4 separate regions of the Homo sapiens genome follow, and regions 1, 2 and 4 are each linked to region 3. Evidence: promoter capture Hi-C in human tissues and cell types (Jung and others, 2019). All regions are on one chromosome and are shown on one strand. The core of a region is centred on a gene start or on the middle of the fragment in contact, and the rest is flanking DNA. Distances in the headings are between cores, read along the strand shown. Region 1 overlaps FBXO42 (F-box protein 42). Region 2 overlaps SPEN (spen family transcriptional repressor). Region 3 holds the start of CLCNKB (chloride voltage-gated channel Kb). Region 4 has its middle 15 kb from the start of UQCRHL.

What was found. Contacts are between HindIII fragments. The study calls those that stand out against the background at their distance.
Region 1: a contact is called between a fragment that was not itself captured here and the fragment with the promoter of CLCNKB in region 3, in 1 of the 25 tissues and cell types used here (aorta).
Region 2: a fragment that was not itself captured here is called in contact with the fragment with the promoter of CLCNKB in region 3 in 2 of the 25 tissues and cell types used here (hippocampus and spleen).
Region 4: a fragment that was not itself captured here is called in contact with the fragment with the promoter of CLCNKB in region 3 in 1 of the 25 tissues and cell types used here (aorta).

The regions. Positions count from the first base shown.
Region 1 is chr1:16,277,018-16,280,189 of GRCh38, forward strand. The region is part of intron 4 of FBXO42 (F-box protein 42); the gene reads right to left. Among named protein-coding and RNA genes, the nearest start is that of CPLANE2, 41 kb to the left of the region's middle. The HindIII fragment of the contact is 3,965 bases long and covers 1-3,172 here.
Region 2 is chr1:15,875,148-15,878,218 of GRCh38, forward strand. It overlaps SPEN (spen family transcriptional repressor), which reads left to right. Exons shown (of 15, transcript NM_015001.3): 3 at 1,055-1,531. Among named protein-coding and RNA genes, the nearest start is that of SPEN-AS1, 29 kb to the left of the region's middle. The HindIII fragment of the contact is 3,998 bases long and covers 1-3,071 here.
Region 3 is chr1:16,041,930-16,045,119 of GRCh38, forward strand. It overlaps CLCNKB (chloride voltage-gated channel Kb), which reads left to right and starts at 1,853. Exons shown (of 20, transcript NM_000085.5): 1 at 1,853-1,951; 2 at 2,557-2,663. The coding sequence starts at 2,564. The HindIII fragment of the contact is 23,589 bases long and covers 1-3,190 here.
Region 4 is chr1:15,820,609-15,823,763 of GRCh38, forward strand. No RefSeq gene overlaps it. Among named protein-coding and RNA genes, the nearest start is that of UQCRHL, 15 kb to the left of the region's middle. The HindIII fragment of the contact is 5,316 bases long and covers 1-3,155 here.

The DNA of each region.
Region 1 (3,172 bases), core at 620-3,119, 240 kb after region 3:
AGCTAAGGACAGATATTAATACATTTTGGTAATAAATACATTTGGTAATCAAGGAAAGATCTGTGAGTAGAACTGGATTGTCTCATTCACAAACAAAATACTAAAACAATGAGATCAATCACTCGTTTTTAAGACAGAATAGAAGCTAGGAGTATATTTGAAAGGCACGTGTGTCCTCTTGTTATACTGTCTGATATTCAGCAGTTAATCATCATCCACTTCTTCCCCATTGCCACAAGATTTGGCATTCTCCTAACACATTTGCATATTATAATTTTAAAAATGTATAAAGTGCTTAGTGCAAAACAATATTAAAAAGCAGAATCGAATAGTGACAAGCACATTAATACATCATTCTTTTTTTTTCTTTTTTTCTCCTCCCTGCCCCCACTACTAATATATTATTTTTAAAAATTCCATATCCAGGCTGGGCATGGTGGCTAATGCTTGTAATCCCAGCATTTTGGGGGGCCGAGGCAAGCGGATCACTTGAGCTCAGAAGTTTGAGACCAGCCTGGCCAACACGGTGAAACCCTATCTCTACTAAAAATACAAAAACTAGCCGGGCGTGGTGGTATGCACCTGTAATCCCAGCTACTCAGGAGGCTGAGGCAGAAGAATTGCTTGAATCCAGGAGGCGGAGGTTGCAATGAGCCGAAATTCGCCACTGCACTCCAGGCCGGGTGACAGAGCGAGATTCTGTCTCAAAAAAAAAAAAAAAATTAAAAAATTCCACATCCAGGCTGGGCGTGGTGGCTCAGGCCTGTAATCCCAGCACTTTCGGAGGATGAGGCAGGAGGATCACTTGAGCCTAGAAGTTTGAGACCAGCCTGGGCAACAGGGCAAGACCCTGTCTCAACAAAAAATTTAAAAAATTAGCTGGGCTTGGTGGCATATGTCTATAGTCCCAGCTACTAGGGAGGCTGAGGCAGGAGGATCACTTGAGCCCAAGAGGTCGAGGCTGCAGTAAACCATGTTCGTGCCACTGTACTCCAGCCTGGGTGATGGAGTGACACCCTGTATCAAAAAATAAATAATTTTTAAAAATCCACATCCAGGCCAGGCGTGGTGGCTCATGCCTGTAATCCCAGCACTTTGGGAGGCCGAGGCGGGCGGATCACCTGAGGCTGGGAGTTTGAGACCACCCTGACCAACATGGAGAAACTCCATCTCAACTAAAAATACAAAATTAGCTGGGTATGGTGGCACATGCCTGTAATCCCAGCTACTCGGGAGGCTGAGGCAGGAGAATCGCTTGAACCCGGGAGGCGGAGGTTGCAGTGAGCCGGAGATCACGCCATTGCACTCCAGCCTGGGCAACAAGAGCGAAACTCCATCTCAAAAAAAAAAACAAAAAACAAAACAAAAAAAACCACATCCAGCTGTTTCAATGTTAGCACCGACGTTTGGGACCTGAGCCAAAGGATGGACTGGGAAATCTTTTCCCAGAATAGACTACTGTCTTTTTTATTTTTATTTTGTTTTGTTTTTTGTTAGAATAGACTCTACTGTCAGCTGCTTTAGTTATACCTGGTACCAGGTATCAGTCCCAGACTCCCTTGTTTAGACATTTCCTGGTGATATTACCACAGGCTCAGGGAAGATAACCTAAGATTAAGCTTTTCCACTAGACACATGACAGTAAGCTTCATTAACGGGACTGACAGCCCCATATGTAACCTTTTTAAGGTATCATTTACACTGTAAAAGAAACAGTAATATTCTGGACAGTTATTTCTAGACAGTTATTTCTCTTTTTTTCTTTTTTTTTGAGACGGAGTTTCGCTCTTGTTGCCGAGGCTGGAGGCTGGAATGTAATGGCGCAATCTTGGCTCACCACAACCTCCGCCTTCTGGGTTCAACCGATTCTCCTGCCTCAGCCTCCCGAGCAGCTGGGACTACAGGCATGTGCCACCATGCCTGGCTAATTTTGTATTTTTAGTACACGGGGTTTCTCCATGTTGGTCAGGCTGGTCTCGAACTCCCGACCTCAGGTGATCTGCCTGGGTCGGCCTCCCAAAGTGCTGGGATTACAGGCATGAGCCACCGCGCCCAGCCTAGACGGTTATTTCTGAACAGTTCTAGCACTGGTCGTGCTCCCTATCCAATTTTTAAGGATATCCTGTGGTCTTCCTACTGACATGTGATATGACCAATACTTTTTCCTGCCCCCACCTCCGAAAGTAAATTAGCTTTTCTGCAAGATTACTCAGTGATTTTGGAAGATATTGTTCTTTTAGAGAATAGCCCTAAAAAAACAAAATTATTTCCAACGGAGCTTCTAACTCTGGATAGCTTGAAAGAAGGGAGGCTGAGGCAGGATGACTGCTTGAGTCTAGGAGTTTGAGGCTGCAGTGAACTAGGACCTATGACTGAGTCACTACACTCCAGCCTGGGCAACAGAGTGAGACCCCATCTCTTGAAAAGCAAACAAACAGGAAGAGATATCTTGTCTACATCTTGTCTAGCATCCTGCTCCTCACCAAAAAAATTTTAAAAGCAAATCATGTTGATATCTAAAAATTCTCTAAGCTGTGAAAAAGTTTCTTCAAATGATATACCCTCTTCTCATTATCCTTTCCTGACTCTAATGATAAACATAATAGTCAAATAGCTTAGTTATTCCCCTAAAATTCAATGGAACATCGAGAACCAAGGGCAATTACAAATGGGTAAAAGAGAATAACAGGAAAAGAAAGCAATAGACTATAAAAAAGAATTACAAGGCAGAGAAAAGAGTAACTCTACAGTGGAAAATCAAATGTATACTATTTCAACCAGGTGATCCTGGTTAATAGAAACAGTGAAAAATCATGTTGACAATGGTTTTTTTTTTCTTTTTTTTTTGAGACAGAGTCTTGCTTTGTTGCCCAGGCTGGAGGGCAGTGGTGCAATCTTGGCTCACTGCAACCTCTGCCTCCCTGGCTCAACTGATTCTTGTGCCTCAGCCTCCTGGGTAGCTGGGATTACAGGCCTGTGTCACCACACCTAGCTAATTTTTGTATTTTTTAGTAAAGACAGGGTTTCTCTATGTTGGCCAGGCTGGTCTTGAACTCCTGGCCTCGAATGATCCACCTGCCTTGACCTCCCAAAGTGCTGGGATTATAGGCGTGAGCCACCACACCAGCCAACAATATGTACTCTTGATCTGATGTGATGAGAATGGCATTAT
Region 2 (3,071 bases), core at 318-2,817, 170 kb before region 3:
AGAACTTACGATTTCTTTATAGGATTATAACTAGTTTTTAATATTAACACATAATTGCATGTGTGTAATCGTACATGCAACGTGTTTTGTACTTTTTAGGTTGACAGGTATTCACATCCTACTAAATGATTGTTTAAGTTAAGCTATTTTGCTAATAGCGACCTTAGAATATCTTATAGTTCCTAATGTTACCTAATTTCATCACAGGCAATTTGAGTATAGCTAAAAGCCAAAAGAACATATTTCCTACAACCATTGAGTTTATACATTAAGAAATTGAATCATGGAATAGGCATTTTTAAAGTCATTTGGAATTTGATAGCACAGGAGTAAATAATTTTTATTTTTATTTAAATTCACATAGAGTAGCATGTGGTAACCCAATATTTTGATACTTGAAGTGGTTTTTTTTTGAGATTCTATTTTTATTATTAAATGTAATTGGGTACCGCTGTGCAGTCTATGTAGTCTAGTTTATGTAGTCCAGTAATTTTTTATAACTATCCAAGCAGTCAAAACTTAATGAAAAAAAGTTAAACTTAGAAAATTTTTTCTGGACTTCTTGAAAGTCCTTCCTATTGTTGAGACATGCGCTGCAGCAGGGCTTTCATGTCTAAGTTAAAACATAGCATGGAAATGTGGCCTAAAAGAAATTTGTGAGTAAATAAAATTTGGTATATACTTTAATCAGATGAAAGTGTAAAAACTTTCATATTATTAAAATAGTCTCTTGTTCCGTTAACATGAAAAGGAGATTGTATATTTATGTATGCAAGTCAGAAAATCTCTAATAAAGTAAGCAAGTGAGCTGCAGAACACTAGTCATGAAAGCCCAATATACAATGAAAACAATGATTGCTCAGCTGTGAAAATAATTTTTGGAGTCAAGTAAAATGTTAAGCTTGTTAGCGTTTGCTTATTAAGTAGGTTAATGCTGTTTAGAAAATGACCAGTTGCAAAGACAAAGACAATGCTGAAGTGAATGTTTGCATGACTTGCTTTTAGTTTTGCTTGCTCCTTTCTGATTAAATATTTTTCCCCCTCCTAAATGCAGGGCTTCAGATAACAGGGAGCGTGCTTATGAACATAGTGCCTATGGACACCATGAACGGGGGACGGGAGGATTTGATCGGACAAGACATTACGATCAGGATTACTATAGAGATCCTCGAGAGCGGACTTTACAACATGGGCTCTATTACGCTTCTCGGAGTCGAAGTCCAAATCGCTTTGATGCTCATGACCCCCGATATGAACCTAGGGCTCGCGAGCAGTTTACACTGCCCAGTGTGGTACACAGGGATATCTACAGGGATGATATTACCCGGGAGGTACGAGGCAGAAGGCCAGAGCGGAATTACCAGCACAGCAGGAGTCGGTCACCACATTCATCCCAGTCTAGAAATCAGTCTCCTCAGAGACTGGCTAGCCAAGCATCTAGACCCACAAGGTCCCCTAGCGGCAGCGGCTCTAGAAGTAGATCCTCCAGTAGTGATTCAATCAGCAGCAGCAGTAGTACCAGCAGTGACAGGTAGGTTAACAGCCTTTTGTTATAACAGATGAGCTAGCTTTAAACAAATTCTCAACAATCAGTGGGAATGGTTTCAGCATAGTATTATTTTTTAAAGTAATCTTGGATCATATATGTATGTAATCAGTAAAGAAACTGGCATGTGGCCATTGAATTAACTGTTCTAAGTACTCGAAGTTAAGTGATGATTTGCAAAGTTCTGTTTCATCCTCCAGATGCACAGTATTAAAATTAAATGATCAAAGTGGAAGGGAGGTGGTGACTCTAGCTGTGCAAGGCAAATCTTGTGACACTGAAAATATGGTATCTCTTTAACATTTTTAATTTTGTAGGTGTATAATACCAATTTATTTCTATTATTTTGATTGAAGATTTGTAAAAGCTGTTTGGTTAAATATGTATTGGTGAAATATAATATTGTTGACACATTTATTATCAATGACTAGATCAACTTATGAACAAATTTTAGCTAATTTTAACATCAGGGTGGTAGCCAATTTATAAACTCAAGTAGAAAAGCTTCCTTTGAATGCAGGTTGTAACTTTACTGTTCTGTAAACTGATCTCACTAGTTGAGAATTTCTTTCTACAAATATATATATATATTTTAAAGACAGTCTCACTGTGTCACCAAGGCTGGAGTGCAGTGGTGTAGCCTTGGCTCACGGCAACCTCTGCCTTCTGGGTTCCAGCAGTCCTCCTGCCTCAGCCTCCCAAGTAGCTGGGATTACAAACGTGCGCAACCACGCCTGGCTAATTTTGTATTTAGTAAAGATGAGGTTTTGCCATGTTGGCCAGGCTGTTCTTGAACTCCTGACCTCAAGTGATTTGCCCACCTCATCCTCCCAAATTGCTGGGATTACAGGCATGAGCCAGAGTGCCCAGCCAAAAAGTTTTATTTGAAAAGCGAAAATAGTAAGTTGAGGGTAATCTTAATAAGAAACTTAGCTTCAAACCTAGTTATATGGATTTTGAAATCACAGATCTGGGTATGTGGTATAGATTATCCTTTAAGTAATCTAGGATAAGTTATTTATGTTCTTCAGGTCTCAGCTTTCCCTTTTTTTTTTTTTTTTTTTTTTTGAGATGGAGTCTCGCTCTTGTCACCTAGGCTGGAGTGCAATGGCGTGATCTTGGCTCACAGCACCCTCCACCTCCTGGGTTCAAGTGAGTCTTCTGCCTCAGCTTCCCATGTAGCTGAGATTACAGGCACCCATCACCATGCCAGGCCAATTTTTGTATTTTTAGTAGAAACGGGGTTTTACCGTGTTGGCCAGGCTGGTCTCTAACTCCTGACCTCAGGTGATTCACCTGCCTTGGCCTCCCAGAGTGTTGGGATTACCAGTGTGAGCTACTGCGCCTGGCCAAGCTTTCTCATTTTTAATAAGGACCTTAATAAAGTTATTGTGAAAATTAAAATGAACACTTAATGTAAAATGCTTACTTTGATACCTAGTATATGTTAAAAAAAATGCTGCTATTCAATTTGTTAATCCCACATGTCCTGCTTTTCAATTTAGGTGGTATATATTTAAAATTT
Region 3 (3,190 bases), core at 603-3,102:
GCCCCGCTCCCACCCATACCTGCCCTGTCTCTTTCAGCGTGCCCTGTCCCCCATCCCGTCCTCAGCTGCTCTGAGGCGAGGGGGCTGTGCAGGTCCTGGGCACCCGACCCCCACTGTCATGAGACAGAGACCCAGGTCTCAGGCTCAGCTCATTTGACAGAGGAGGAAAACAGAGGCTCCGGATGGTGATGGTGTTAGGGTCACAGAGCCGCCCTGGGTTCTCCCCTGCTGTCTCTCTACTGAGCCCCCGCTACTGCTGCCAGGCGACTAATATGGAAGGGGAGAAATTAGGGCTGATGTGGAGGCAGTGGGTTTGGGAGGGACCTGCATTGGGTCCTGCGCCCCCTGGCTGCCCTCTTCTCAGCCTCCTGGGGCACACAGGGCTGGGGGGTGAGGGTGGATGTGGACATGCAGTGCCGGCTGTGGGACAGTAGCCAGCAGCTGCCCCAGACCAGACACTGGGGATCCGGATGTTGACAGGGCAGCCAGTTCTGGTGCTGTGCAGAGTCAACAGGTCAGGGTGGCCAAGATGAAGGTGGGCTCGGGTTCATGCAGAGCGGCAACCCCCATCCCACCTCCCACAACACACACCTTCAATTTTGATTTGACTTGCCTGGCATCTAGGGGCAAAGGGTGGCCCAGGGTCCCAGATTTTAACAATCATCCAAGGGCCATCATGTTATTCAGAGAGTGGCTTTGTCTGGGTAGGACTGGAGGCAATTGCCCCCAACATCTTGCCCCAAAGTGGCATCAGACACAACTCTTCTGTTCTGTGCCCAAACCATTGCCCTGGTTCAGCCTCAGGAGCTGGAGGAGCTTTGGGCAGGGGAAGAGCTGCACAGTGTGGGGCTGGGTTCAGCCTCTGCTGTGTGACCTTGGATGAGTGACTCACCTCTCTGACCATCTACAAAATGGCGAGGCTCTCCCCATTCACAGGGTGTGGGGAGGAGGACTTGAGCTGCGGATGTGACGCTTCTGACACGTTGCAGGCACACGGCACGTGCTTGTTCCTCGCCATGTCCCCTCACACCTGTGCTGCCATCCTCTGTTGGGGTGGGACAAACTCTGTGGAATTACCCAGAAGTCCCCACCAGAGCCGCTGGCCCTTGGACGTGTGCTTTGAGAGGCATTTCCTGAGCCTGGAGGGTCTGGACACAGGATCAAGTCTGAGTTCCTGACCCCAATTCACTGCCTTGCCCCAGGTGTCGGCCTCCTCGCCAGCCCTGGACAAGATGGGTCATCAGGATGGGACCGTGTGGCACAGCCTGCGGGCTTTGGAGCCAGGCAAACCTGGGCTGGGAATCCTGGCGCTGCCTCGGCCTCCGTGATCTTAGACGGGCAGCCCCACCTCCCTGAGACACCATTTCTCTACAACGGGATCACGCTGCCTGCCTCGTGGGATTTCCGTGGGCACTCAGGGTAATTAATCTAGGGGAAGGCTGACTCTCTACCTGGCACACAGGGAGGCTGTGGTCATGCTGGCCCCACTCACCTTTGCCGGCCTGCTTTCTCCTTCTCTGCCCAGCCTCCTCCCCTCTCCCTCTGTGCTTTTCCAAACCTTCCATGTCCAGCTCTGAGACCCCTGGACCCTGAGCCTCAGCCTTGGCAGATGACCCCTCTCTGTCCTGCTGTGTGCGTGAGCTCCCCCTTCCCAGCCCCCGTCCAGCAGCACCCAGGAGCCTGAGTACAGCTGGGCACCACCCTCTGTGCAGCTATGGTGGGTGGGGAGGCTCCTGTTCCCCTCCCTGTTGGCAGCTCTGCTCTGCTCTGCTCCGGCCTGGGCAGTTCTGATCGGTTTTCAAGGACATTCTAAGTGTTCGCCATAAACCCTGGGCCCAGGCGGGAAAGGGGGGAGGATGTTGATTGTTGGAACACACACCTGTCCAGGTGCAGGGGAGCTGGAGGCTCTGTGAGAGGAGGGCCAGCTCAGCCACAGCAGGAGGACTGACAGGTGAGGGGTCGCTGCAAGATGCTGGGGCCTGCCAGGGCCAGACAGGCAGGGCGGGGGGGGGGGGGTGGTAAGGGCAGGAGCCAGCACCTCACTTTGGCCCTGGTGGGATCTTCTTCTGGGCCTGGGGTTTTGCTGCCTCTGTGGCCTGAGCTGGGGTCAGGGGTGCTCATAGGTGGACAGGGAGAGTCAGAGCCATCCATGGGACTCTGCAGTGAGAGTGTCACAGCCCTGGGCAGAGACTGCTCCCAGCAGTGGAAGCGCCAAGTGACCCAGGAGGGTGGGAGCGGCTGCCACCGAAGGGGAAGGGGCTCTGAGCAGGGCTTGGGCTCCGGCCTGTGCCCAGTCTGCTGCTGGACACAGGGGGACACCTAGGAATCCCACCCCCATCCCACACAATGACACACACAGGCACACACCCTCAGTGACGGAAACTCAGGGATGAAGGCACACACAGACCTAGTGTGATAACTTCACATACACACACACACACACACACACGCACAATCTTTCCTCTTCATGGGTGGGGAGAGCACTGGAAGGGCCTAGAGGCAGTGCGAGGACGTGCAGCAGCTCACCGCGGTCCCTCCCTCTATCCGCTTCTCCAGGGGCCTGATGGAGGAGTTTGTGGGGCTGCGTGAAGGCTCCTCAGGGAACCCTGTGACTCTGCAGGAGCTGTGGGGCCCCTGTCCCCGCATCCGCCGAGGCATCCGAGGTGAGAGCCAGGTCCTCTTCCCTTCCCCCTGGAGGACCACTCAGGACATCATTCCTGCCCAGCTCCCACCCCACCTCCCTGCCCAGGAACCACCCTCCTCCTGGCATTTGTCCAGGACATGACTGCCCAAAGTCTCCTGGGTGGCAGGGAGGGAAGGGGTCTGTCTGTCCAGCTGTCTGTGGGTCAGATGGGCCGGGCATCTGCCCTCTGCCTTTCGGGAGATACAGCCCAAGGCCTGGTCACTGTGCCCATCTTCCACCCAGGCCTCTCCCTCACCTACCTGTGCCAATGAGGGGACGTGGGGGTTAGCTGCTGGGACAGCTGGGGCCACAGCAAGGGGCTGGGGCAGCCTACACTTGGCACCTTTCCTTGGAGCCCCATGTGCTTTGTTCACTTTGAGACCTGACTGTCCCCTCAGCTACGGGGCAGAGCAAGTAGGGACCACAGAAGGAGGCTGACTGCAACCCCAGGGGCTGGTGCCCACAGCCAGTGAGGGCCAGCTCCCAGGCTGGGCTAGCAGCCAGTGG
Region 4 (3,155 bases), core at 261-2,760, 220 kb before region 3:
TTTGCTTGCCAGCATCTGCCCCCATACATTCCATCCTCCAGTCCTCTACTAGCTGAACTATCGAAAGCCAGTTCCTTTGCTTATGCAGCCCTTCCCTCCTACTTCAGGGCTCAGGTCATCCTGTCAATTCTTTCCACTCTCCAACCCACATCCATTCCCTACTCCCAGACTGGGCAACACAGTGAGACCCTGTCTCTACAAAAAATTTTAAAATTAGCCGGGGGTGGTGGCATGCTCTTGTATTCACAGACACCTGGGAGGCTGAGGCAGAGAGGGGAGGATCCCTTGTACCCAGGAGTTAAAAGCTGCAGTGAGCCATGATCACATCACTGCTGGGTGACAGAGCAAGACCCTGTCTCAAAAAAAAAAAAAAAAAAAACTGAAAACATCCAGCATATTTGTACACAGGGTTTCAATGTCCCCAATATAATGGATACTGTACTTACTTGTTTATCTTCTTTTGAAAGGAGAGAGAAATCTTTCTTAAGGCCAGACACAGTGACTCACGCCTATAATTCCAGCACTTTGGGAGGATGAGGTGGGCAGATCACTTGAGGCCAGGAGTTCGAGACCAGCCGGGCCAACATGGCGAAACCCTGTCTCTACTAAAAATACAAAAATTAGCCAGGCATCCTGGCATGTGCCTGTAGTCCCAGCTACTCGGGAGACTGAGGCAGGAGAGTCACTTGAAAGCAGGAGGCACGGGACACGGTGGCTCATGCCTGTAATCCCAGCACTTTGGGAGGCCGAGGCAGGTGGATCATGAGGTCAAGAGATCGAGACCATCCTGGACAACATGGTGAAACCCGTCTCTACTAAAAATACAAAAATTAGCTGGGCGTAGTGGTGTGCACTTGTAGTCCCAGCTACTTAGGAGGCTGAGGCAGGAGAATCGCTTGAACTTGGGAGGCGGAGGTTGCAGTGGACCAAGATCGTGCCACTGCACTCCAGCTTGGTGACAGAGGGAGACTCCATCTCAAAAAAAAAAAAAAGAAAGAAACTAGGAAGCAGAGGTTGAAGTGAGCTGAGATTGTGCCACTGCACTCCAGACTGAGCGACAGAGCGAGACTCCATCTCAAAAAAACCCCAAAACTAACTTTCTTTTTCTTTTTCTTTTTTCTGAGACAGAGTCTCGCTCTGGCGCCCAGGCTGGAGTGCAGTGGTGCGATCTCGGCTCACTGCAAGCTCCGCCTCCCGGGTTCACGCCATTCTCCCTCCTCAGCCTCCCGAGTAGCTGGGACTACAGGGGCCCGCCACCACGCCCAGCTAATTTTTTGTATTTTTAGTAGAGACGGGGTTTCACCATTCACAGAATGGTCTCAATCTCCTGACCTCGTGATCTGCCCACCTCGGCCTCCCAAAGTGCTGGGATTACAGGCGTGAGCCACCGCGCCCGGCCAAAACTTTCTTAAAATTTAATACTCTCCAGGAAGTAGAATTTTCATGACATATACTCTACATGTAACTAATGCATTAATACCATCAGAAATACATCTAAACTAGTTTGTTAAAGAAATGATCTTTTCCGGGCCGGGCGTGGTGGCTCACGCCTGTAATCCCAGCACTTTGGAAGGCCGAGGCGGGTGGATCACGAGGTCAGGAGATCGAGACTATCCTGGGTAACACGGTGAAACCCCGTCTCTACTAAAAATACAAAAAAATTAGCCGGGCCTAGTGGCGGGCGCCTGTAATCCCAGCTACTCCGGAGGCTGAGGCAGGAGAATGGCGTGGACCCGGGAGGCGGAGCTTGCAGTGAGCCGAGATCACACCACTGCACTCTGTGACCTGGGCGACAGAGCGAGACTCCGTCTCAAAAAAAAAAAAAGAAAAGAAATGATTTTTCCTCAGCTGTATTTTAAGTTCCACATCAGTGATTCTTAGGAGGAGTGAGAAAGGTCCCACGAAGTAGGTAATTCAAGGGATATCTCAGAATCCCTCGAAATCCTGATATTCCATTTCAGAAGACAGCTTTCCTCAACCACCCCCAATTTCTCCCTGTCCCCCAGGCTGGAGTGCAGTGGTGTGATCTTAGCTCACTGCAACATCTGCCTCCCAATGCCCCAAAATTGAATCCAATCCCTCAATCACTACCAGTATAAATCAATGTAAATGACAGAAGTATAGTGTGTGCTAGGACAAAGGAAAAACAGGTGAAGACCTTATTCTACATAAGCTGGAGAGCAACATTTCATAAATAATTAGAAAATGTACACTTAACCATATACTACTGCTAGGCTTCATCCAAAGTGACAAATATCAAAAAATAAAAAATTGTGGGCTGGGCGCAGTGGCTCACGCCAGTAATTCCAGCACTTTAGGAGGCCAAGGCGGGCAGATCACCTGAGGTCAGGAGTTCCAGACCAGCCTGGCCAACATGGTGAAACCCCACCTCTACCAAAAATACAAAAATTAGCTGGGTGTGGTGGCACATGCTTATAGTCCAAGCTACTTGGGAGGCTGAGGCAGGAGAATGGCTTGAACCCTAGAGGTTGAGGCTGCAGTGAGCCAAGATCACACCATCACCCTCCGGCCTGGGCGACAGAGTGACAAGACTCCATCTCAAAAAAAAAAAAAAAAAAAAAATTGTTGGCTGGGCACGGTGGCTCACATCTGTAATCCCTACACTTTGGGAGGCTGAGGCAGGGGGATCACCTGAGGTCAGGAGTTCGAGACCAGCCTGACCAACATGGAGAAACCCCATCTCTACTAAAAATACAAAATTAGCCCAGCGTGATGGCGCATGCCTGTAATCCCAGCTATTCAGGAAGCTGAGGCAGGAGAATTGCTTGAATCCTGGAGGTGGAGGTTTCAGTTAGCAGAGATCGTGCCATTGCACTCCTGCCTGGTCAACAAGAGTGAAACTCCATCTCAAAAAAAAAAAAAAAAAAAAAAGCTTCAATAGCTATTAGGCATAAATGTTGCAGGATAAAATATACATGATACTTTATATCTGTATTTAATCACATGTTCCAATAAAGAATGATAAAGTAATACATTGAAAATACAAATTGGCCAAGCACAGTGACTCACGCCTGTAATCCTAGCACTTTGGGAGGCCCAGGTGAGTGGATCATCTGATCTCAGAAGTTGGAGACCAGCCTGGGCAACATGGAGAAGCCCCATCTCTATCAAAAATACAAAATATTAGCCGGGTG